Regions from separate parts of the Homo sapiens genome. Here region 2 is linked to region 1. The links are contacts of gene promoters, found by promoter capture Hi-C in human tissues and cell types (Jung and others, 2019). All regions are on one chromosome and are shown on one strand. Each heading gives the region's core, a stretch centred on a gene start or on the middle of the fragment in contact. The rest is flanking DNA. Distances are from core to core; before and after follow the strand shown.

What was found. Contacts are between HindIII fragments. The study calls those that stand out against the background at their distance.
Region 2: a fragment that was not itself captured here is called in contact with the fragment with the promoter of PPP6R2 in region 1 in 1 of the 25 tissues and cell types used here (dorsolateral prefrontal cortex).

The regions. Positions count from the first base shown.
Region 1 is chr22:50,342,024-50,346,289 of GRCh38, reverse strand. It overlaps PPP6R2 (protein phosphatase 6 regulatory subunit 2), which reads right to left and starts at 2,963. Exons shown (of 24, transcript NM_001242898.2): 1 at 2,740-2,963. RefSeq lists silencers at 2,703-2,782, 2,793-3,072, 3,343-3,512 and an enhancer at 3,609-4,255. The HindIII fragment of the contact is 17,181 bases long and covers 1-4,266 here.
Region 2 is chr22:50,715,841-50,720,214 of GRCh38, reverse strand. It overlaps SHANK3 (SH3 and multiple ankyrin repeat domains 3), which reads right to left. Exons shown (of 25, transcript NM_001372044.2): 24 at 1-31. Among named protein-coding and RNA genes, the nearest start is that of ACR, 20 kb to the left of the region's middle. The HindIII fragment of the contact is 5,276 bases long and covers 1-4,374 here.

The DNA of each region.
Region 1 (4,266 bases), core at 1,714-4,213:
GGGGCACTGACTGGGGGGAACTGACTAGGGGATGCACTGACTGGGGAGAACTTACTGGAGGGGCACTGACTGGAGGGGACAGTGACTGACTTGGGGGGGGCACTGACTGGGGGGCACTGACTGACTGGGGGAACTGACTGGAGGGGGAACTGACTGACTTGGGGGGCACTGACTGGGGGGCAACTGACTGGGGGAACTGACTGGAGGGGGCACTGACTGGGTGGGTCACTGACTGGAGGGTTCACTGACTGGGGGGAACTGACTAGAGGATGCACTGACTGGGGGGAACTGACTGGAGGGGGGCACTGACTGGGGGGGAACTGACTGGAGGGGGCACTGACTGGGTGGGTCACTGACTGGAGGGTTCACTGACTGGGGGGAACTGACTAGAGGATGCACTGACTGGGGGGAACTGACTGGAGGGGGGCACTGACTGGGGGGGAACTGACTGGAGGGGGCACTGACTTGGGGGGCACTGACTGGGGGGAAACTGACTGGAGGGGGCACTGACTGGGGGGGGGAACTGACCGGGGGGGGGGAACTGACTGGAGGGGGCACTGACTAGGGGGGCACTGATGGGGGGAACTGACTGGAGGGGGCACTGACTGGAGGGAAACTGACTGGGGGGAAACTGACTGGGGGGGAACTGACTGGAGGGGGCACTGACTGGGGGGAAACTGACTGGAGGGGGCACTGACTGGAGGGGGCACTGACTGGGGGGCACTGACTGGAGGGAAACTGACTGGGGGAAAACTGACTGGGGGGAACTGACTGGAGGGGGCACTGACTGGGGGGAAACTGACTGGAGGGGGCACTGACTGGAGGGGGCACTGACTGGGGGGCACTGACTGGAGGGAAACTGACTGGGGGGAAACTGACTGGGGGGAACTGACTGGAGGGGGCACTGACTGGGGGAACTGACTAGAGGGTGTACTGACTGGGGGGGGGAACTGACTGGAGGGGGCACTGACTGGGGGGGGAACTGACTGGAGGGGGCACTGACTGGGGGAAACTGACTGGAGGAGGCACTGACTGGGGGGGAACTGACTGGAGGGGGCACTGACTGGGGGAACTGACTGGAGGGGGCACTGACTTGGGGGGGAACTGACTGGAGGGGGCACTGACTGGGGGGAATTGACTGGAGGGGGCACTGACTGGGGGGCACTGACTGGGGGGAAACTGACTGGGGGGGCACTGACTGGGGGGAACTGACTGGAGGGGGCACTGACTGGGGGAAACTGACTGGAGGAGGCACTGACTGGGGGAAACTGACTGGAGGAGGCACTGACTGGGGGAAACTGACTGGAGGAGGCACTGACTGGGGGGAAACTGACTAGAGGGGGCACTGACTGGGGGGGAACTGACTAGAGGGGGCACTGACTGGGGGGGAACTGACTAGAGGGGGCACTGACTGGGGGGGAACTGACTAGAGGGGGCACTGACTGGGGGGGAACTGACTAGAGGGGGCACTGACTGGGGGGGGAACTGACTGGAGGGGGCACTGACTGGGGGAAACTGACTGGAGGAGGCACTGACTGGGGGAAACTGACTGGAGGAGGCACTGACTGGGGGGGAACTGACTGGAGGGGGCACTGACTAGGGGGAATTGACTGGAGGGGGCACTGACTGGGGGGCACTGACTGGGGGGAAACTGACTGGGGGGGCACTGACTGGGGGGAACTGACTGGAGGGGGCACTGACTGGGGGAAACTGACTGGAGGAGGCACTGACTGGGGGGAATTGACTGGAGGGGGCACTGACTGGGGGGAATTGACTGGAGGGGGCACTGACTGGGGGGCACTGACTGGGGGGAAACTGACTGGGGGGGCACTGACTGGGGGGGAACTGACTGGAGGGGGCACTGACTGGGGGAACTGACTGAAGGGGGCACTGACTGGGGGGGGAACTGACTGGAGGGGGCACTGACTGGGGGGAATTGACTGGAGGGGGCACTGACTGGGGGGCACTGACTGGGGGGCACTGACTGGGGGGAAACTGACTGGGGGGGCACTGACTGGGGGGAACTGACTGGAGGGGGCACTGACTGGGGGAAACTGACTGGAGGAGGCACTGACTGGGGGAAACTGACTGGAGGAGGCACTGACTGGGGGAAACTGACTGGAGGAGGCACTGACTGGGGGGAAACTGACTAGAGGGGGCACTGACTGGGGGGGAACTGACTAGAGGGGGCACTGACTGGGGGGGAACTGACTAGAGGGGGCACTGACTGGGGGGGGAACTGACTGGAGGGGGCACTGACTGGGGGAAACTGACTGGAGGAGGCACTGACTGGGGGAAACTGACTGGAGGAGGCACTGACTGGGGGGGAACTGACTGGAGGGGGCACTGACTGGGGGGAAACTGACTGGAGGGGGCACTGACTGGGGGGGAACTGACTGGAGGGGGCACTGACTGGGGGGCACTGACTGGGGGGAAACTGACTGGGGGGAAACTGACTGGGGGGGAACTGACTGGGGGGGAACTGACTGGAGGGGGCACTGACTGGGGGAACTGACTAGAGGGTGCACTAACTGGGGGGGAACTGACTGGAGGGGGCACTGACTGACTTGGGGGGGGCACTGACTCCGGGGGCACCGACTGGGGGGAACTGACTGGAGGGGGAACTGACTGACTGGGGGATAACTATCTGGAGGGGGCACTGACTGACTCGGGGAGAAGTGACTTGGGGGGCACTGGCAGACTGGGGGCCGGGTCTGAGCGGCGGGCGGCCGCACTCACCTGCCCTGCGGGCCGGGCGTCGCGGCAGCTCTTCGGAGGCCCGTGTGGAGGCCCGAGCGGAGGCCAGGGCGCTGGTGGAGGCAAAGCCCGGGCGGCCTCGGGCGGGCCGCACACACATGGGCCCGGCCGAGGGCGCAGCGCCTACGGACACCGGCACGGCCGGCCGGCGGCTCGAGACCGACTCGGGGCCGCGGGCGGCACTCCGATCGCTCCAAAATGGCGGCGGCGGCGCACGGGCACGCGCTCCGGGGGCGGGGTCTCCGCTTGGGGCGCGCACGCTCGCGGCCGGGGGCGGGGCCGCGCGGGTGGGCGGGGCCGGGACCTGGGCCGGCTCTCCGGGCCCCCTGGAGTGGGGCACTCGGTGAAACCCGCGTGGGAGCACGAGGGCTTGGGTGTGCTGACTGCTGCCTTGGAGTGGGTGGGGTAAGAGTGCGTCTTTCCCCTTTTACGTTTCCCTTTGAGGTATTGGCTAAAGTTTTGTGCAAGCATAGTTAATTTTGTTGTAGCCACAAAACAATCCTCGCGTGGCCCGACGCAGCATTTGAGAGACACACACCTGGGGCAGGGGTTTCCCCCGTGGCCCAGGAAAGGGCCTGTTCTCCCGGGCCTCCCTCCTGCCACAGGCCCCTCCCAGAGGCCGCGGGGCGTGGACGCCCCGAGCAGCAGGAGCGGGCTCAGCCCCGGGCGCCAGGCCTGGCCCCTCCCCGTCCCGCGTCCTGCCTGGACCCGGAGTGCCTGAGCCGCCTCCAGACAGTTTTCTCCAGGTGCGCTACGGGTTCTTGCACGGCGTTTTGCAAATTAAGTATGTGCCTATTTAACAAGTGCTGGAATTGTTTAATTCCATCAAAATAATTTCAAAAATGATTACTATTATTTCAGATGTTAGAGCGAGCCGTGGGTAAATGTTGGGAAAACATGGAGCACTTAAGGGATCTCTAAACGTTTTTTCCAGTTGTCAGTGTATTGCCCAGGATTCACCGATGCTCTCTGCGAAAGCGTATCTGGGCGGCTCAAATATTCGGTATTTCTCTTTTGCCAGCTGGCGCTGTTAGGCTTTGTCGGTAGAGGGCGCCAGAGACGTTGCAGGAGAAAAGGGCTTGGCCCTGCGGCTGGCGGCCCCGGGCTTCCCCGACGCCTGTCCCCTGCCCTGGTCAGCAGCACCCTCCTCGCCGGTTTTATAGCAGATGCCTCTGGCGAGCCTTTCCCCAGCAAAAGCTTTTCCCCTAGCATCCTAAGGGGCAGATTTCTGGCAGGTTCCGTTGAGGGAACTTCCAGGAAGTGGGGGTGAAAAAGCCTCAGCCTCACAACCTAGAGAAGAGACACCCTGCGTTCAGCAGGCTATGCCCTTCTCCTGCCCTCACCATGGTCTCCTTTGCAGGAGCGGGAGGTGCTGCTGAGTTGAGCTACGGAATGGGGACTGGGGCCAGGGGCACCAGATGCAGGAGATGCTCCTGCTGCCGTGAGCACGTGCAACTCTGCCTGATCTTGATACCCCTCCTGTGCTCAGCCAGTGCAACTGGGGTGAGC
Region 2 (4,374 bases), core at 1,048-3,547, 370 kb before region 1:
TCCAGCAGGGACGCCAGCTTCTCGTCCTCCCCTGCGGACGGAAGGGCCGGTGAGACCAGCCAGGGCGCTGGGCGGGGGGTGGTGCTGCCTTCGGAGAGGTTCCTGGGGACCCCGGCAACCCCCTCCCACAGAGGCCAGCCTTGACCCGACTCCACCCCGGGGAAGCCACCGTCCGGACACAATGGACGCCCGCGGCAGAACCCGGCGCGAGGAGCTAGAATGCTCGGGAAGATGGGGTTGGGACCCGTGGTGGGCGGGGAATGGAGGGCAGGGGAGAAACAGGGAGCCCAGAGCCCGGGCTCCGAGCAAGACCCTGGTCTGGGCTGGTCCCTGGATGCCCAAGCTCTGTGCCCCAGGCCCAGGGCTGCACGGGGAGGGCTCTTGTGAAGAGGACAGGAGAGAGGTGTGCGTTCAGTTACAGGATGGAGGAGGGCCCCACCGGGGACCCCTGAGAAAGGACACAAACTCTGACGGCCTGGGTTGGGGCCAAGACCTGCCCAAACCCAGGGTCATCAAGCAGGCCCTGAGAAGATATCCCAGAAAGGCAGGGACAGCCCCGCAAGACATGGGGACAGAACTGCTGAGGGGCTTGGAGGGGCCAGTACAGGGCTCCCCACCCCAGAATCAACAAGGCCGACGCAGAAGTACCAGCCCTGGAGGCAACCAGAGGTGAGAGGAAGATAGTCGGAAATGAGCAGGAGTGACACACTGGCAGGGTGAGGGGCAGCAGGGCTGTGGCCACTGGAGCCAGGCCTCCAGCAGAGAAAGACCTAATGCCCACCCAGGTAAGGAGGTGCCCTGTGGAGGAAGCCTTGAGAGGCTCCTCCCAGAGACCCGCATGGGTGAGTGGGTGAAGGGAAGAACGGACGGATCAATCAAAATGGAACTGCAGGCTGAGCACCCAGCATGTTTCATTTTAACCCCTACTGGCAGCGTGACCCCAGGCCAGGCCCTGAGCCCCTTTGAGCTTCAGTAACCCCCCTCTGCATGCCTTGCTCAGACATCATTGTTAGGGTCCTGTGCAGGGGCTGGAGTGCTCAGGGCCCTCATGCTCCTGCTGTCCAGCAGAACCTGACACAACCTCCTGAACACCCCTGTGGACATCATGATGCGGACACACGTGCTGCAGGTGTGTTCAGTGAGGCTGCAGGGGGCGGACGGCCCCACACCCACACACCCAGGTCTCGTGGTGCTCCTGTTCCCAGCCTCACTCTGAGATTGGTCAACATTTTTATGAACTCGCTAAAATACAGACTGCCTGTTCCTGATCGCATCCTCCTCCAGCCACCGCAGTGCTAATGAGGCCTCCAGTACTACACTGCTTCTTGCTGGGCATAATATCTCTTTGTAGCCAAGGTACCAAGGGTGGGCTTTTGTGTACAGACCTAGGCTTGAATTTTAGATCTGCCAGGAACTTCAGAAGCCTCTAGGAACTTCAGTTTCCTCATGTCAAGAGGACAGCCTGCAACTATTGTGGGGCGATTTCACCTTTACAGTGCAGGGCTGAACTGCAGCAGTATCCTGGGAATGGGGGAAGGGGGCCGAGGTCATCATCATCGTGATTTTTAGGTCTGCCTTCCCCCCATCCCCAACCGCTGGACAGAGAAATTGTGCCCAGTTCGTCCTGGGTCTCCTGCTGCATTCCCTGCACTGTGTATGAACACGCAGTGAACACCCACAGCCTATGTGTTAGATGGAGCGACGCAGAATGAGCGCACCTTGAGGATGCAGAAGGCGGGAGTGACGTGCAAAGATGAAATAAGGGGAAACTTAATGCTAATAGCATGCCAAGTTCTGACTTAGGGTAAAGAAAAGTCACTTGCCTCAGCATGGAATGGGGAATCTGTTCTGATACCATCTGGGGCGGGGGTGGGACCCCTTGGGGGCAGAGGCAGACCCTCTTTGTCTGCCTAGGTCATAGCAGAGAGCATTTCTCGAGCACCCACTGTGTGCCAACCTCAAGAGGCAGCATCTACGTCTACTAACACTGGCAGCTGCTGAGCACTCCCAGCATGCCACGCGGTCTGTGAGTGCCATCTACCGGGGGAGACTCAGAGTGGTCCTTGGAGGTGGGTAATAGGTGGTCTCCATGTTTATGGATCAAAATCCTGATGTTTCAAGGGCTGCATCGTGTGCCCAGAGCAACAGAGCCAGGGCATGGGGCAGGGGCCTGGGGAGTCTGACAACCCAACCAATGTGCATGCTGGCAGCTGAGGCCCAGCAGGCCAAGAGGAGCCAAAAAGGAGCACCTGTCCACCCATCCATCAACCGAGTACAAGAGGGTGCCTGAGGGACCAGTGCAGAACTGGCAGTCCTAGGAGAGTGGCTCAAGGCCTGCAGGGCAGGTGCATGGACCTAGACCTGCAGGGTCGGGCCCAGGAACAGCAAGAGTCAGAAGACCCAGGTCAAGGGAGGCAGAGACAAATGTTTCCAGATGAAGCAGGAGAGCACTGGGGCCGATCTCCAGGGCCCTGAGGCAATGAGGAGTGCACAGAGGGTCAAGCTGGACGGATATGGGGTGATAGCAGCTCTGCGGAAAGCCTGATTTGGCCAGAGGGATGGACCAGAGGGCAGAGCCAGGGCAGGCAGTCATGAGAACAAAGCCATGGTCCAGCTGCAAGGTGATGAGACCTGTGCAGGGCAGGGCTGTGAGGCCACCCACCCCGACACATCAGGTGAGGCAGAGGATAAGAAAGAAACCATGGAAGACACTCAGTGTTTAGGCCAGGGAGAGCAGGGGAGAGCGCTTCTCAGCTCCAAAGTAGCTGCAGCCTCACCAGCCTTCTTCCCCACAATCCCACCTACAGAAATAACTCTTGGCAGTCTCTGAGGGACCAGGTCACACACCCATATGCCTTTTCCACACTGCTCTGTCAGTTCACCCCATTATCGCCCAGAAACTCCCATTTATCTTGCACATCTTAGCTCAAAAGTACCCCCACCCCGACACACACAGCCTTCTGTGACACCAGGTGTGCTTGGAGCCCCCCAGTGGGCTCCATTGGTCCGTGAGCCCTGGCACCCACAATGTGCCCGCTGAGCTCTCTGCACACGTCACATTCCCTAACCAAGCCCCAGACTTGGCCCAGGATCGGCCTTGTGTGAACACAAATTGGCAGGGTCCTGAGGCAGGTGAGGAATCCGAGTTTGGGCAGCTGTGTGATCTTGGGCAGGTCATTTACCCTCCTTGCTTCAGTTTTCTCATCTGTAAAATGGAGGTACTAGTGGTCTCAACCTCAATATGGTTATTCTAAGTATTAAATGCTCAGTGTCCAGCCCGTAGTAAGTGCTGAGAGGTTTACTCCTATGTGTAACAGATGGGAGGTGTGCTGGGGTTTGTATGGACAACGGACGGTCAAGTGGGCAGGTGTGTGGGTGGACAGATGCACAGGTGGGCAGGGGACGGGAGAGTGGATGTCTGGAGGGATGCACAGTGGGCAGGGCTTGTTACATGTCCCCATCTGGGTCAGGAAAGGAGACGGTGAGTGTGGAGTGTGATGGTGGCTGGGGAGTGGTGAGGCACAGAGGGGAAGGAGGCTGAAGACACAGCCTTGAAAAGGTCCCATATTTGGGAGGCTGGGGCGGCAGGGTTGAAATAGGTGCCATCTGAGAAAGGAGGGGAAAACCAGTAAGTGTTGTCCTAAAGCTTTGGGGAGGAGCGTTTCACGGAAGAAGGAGCAAAGAAACCAAATGCCAGCTGAGGTCAGCAGGAGTGCTGGCCATGCATCCATGGGGAGGAAGGCCCTGGAGGCCGCCGGTGACCCTGGTGGGAGCAGTTTCAATTTGGGTATGGAGAGAGGAAGTCTGCCGCAGGCTGAGGAGCCGGTGGGGGACGGGAGACAAGATGGACAGTAGAGGTGACTTTTTGGGGAAAACTGGCTGTGAAGGGGGGAGACAGCAATACATGGAGAAGTAGGGGAGAGGCAAGTTCAGGGGGTTTGAGGGTCAGAAACTTCACATGCACTTGGGCTGCAAGGGAGCAACCGCGATGGAGGCAGCTGAGCTGGGGACAGGGATGAGGCTGCCCATGGGAAGGATGAGAGGTGATGGGGAGGTGGGGGTGCCCAGTGGACAGGGAGTGGCAGCTGGGGACAGGGATGAGGCTGCCCATGGGAGGGATGAGAGGTGATGGGGAGGTGGGGGTGCCCAGTGGACAGGGAGTGGCAGCTGGGGACAGGGATGAGACTGCCCATGGGAGGGATGAGGCGATGGGGGGCGGTGCCCACTGGACAGGGAGTGTCGGCTGCCGGGGGAAAGCTCTGGGTTGGGGAAGGCCTAATCCCCACATGTCCATCAACGTATGAGATCCTTTAGCTGGGGCCAGGAAGAGACAGGACTGAGAGGGAAACTGGAAACCCCAGTTATGGGCAGAGA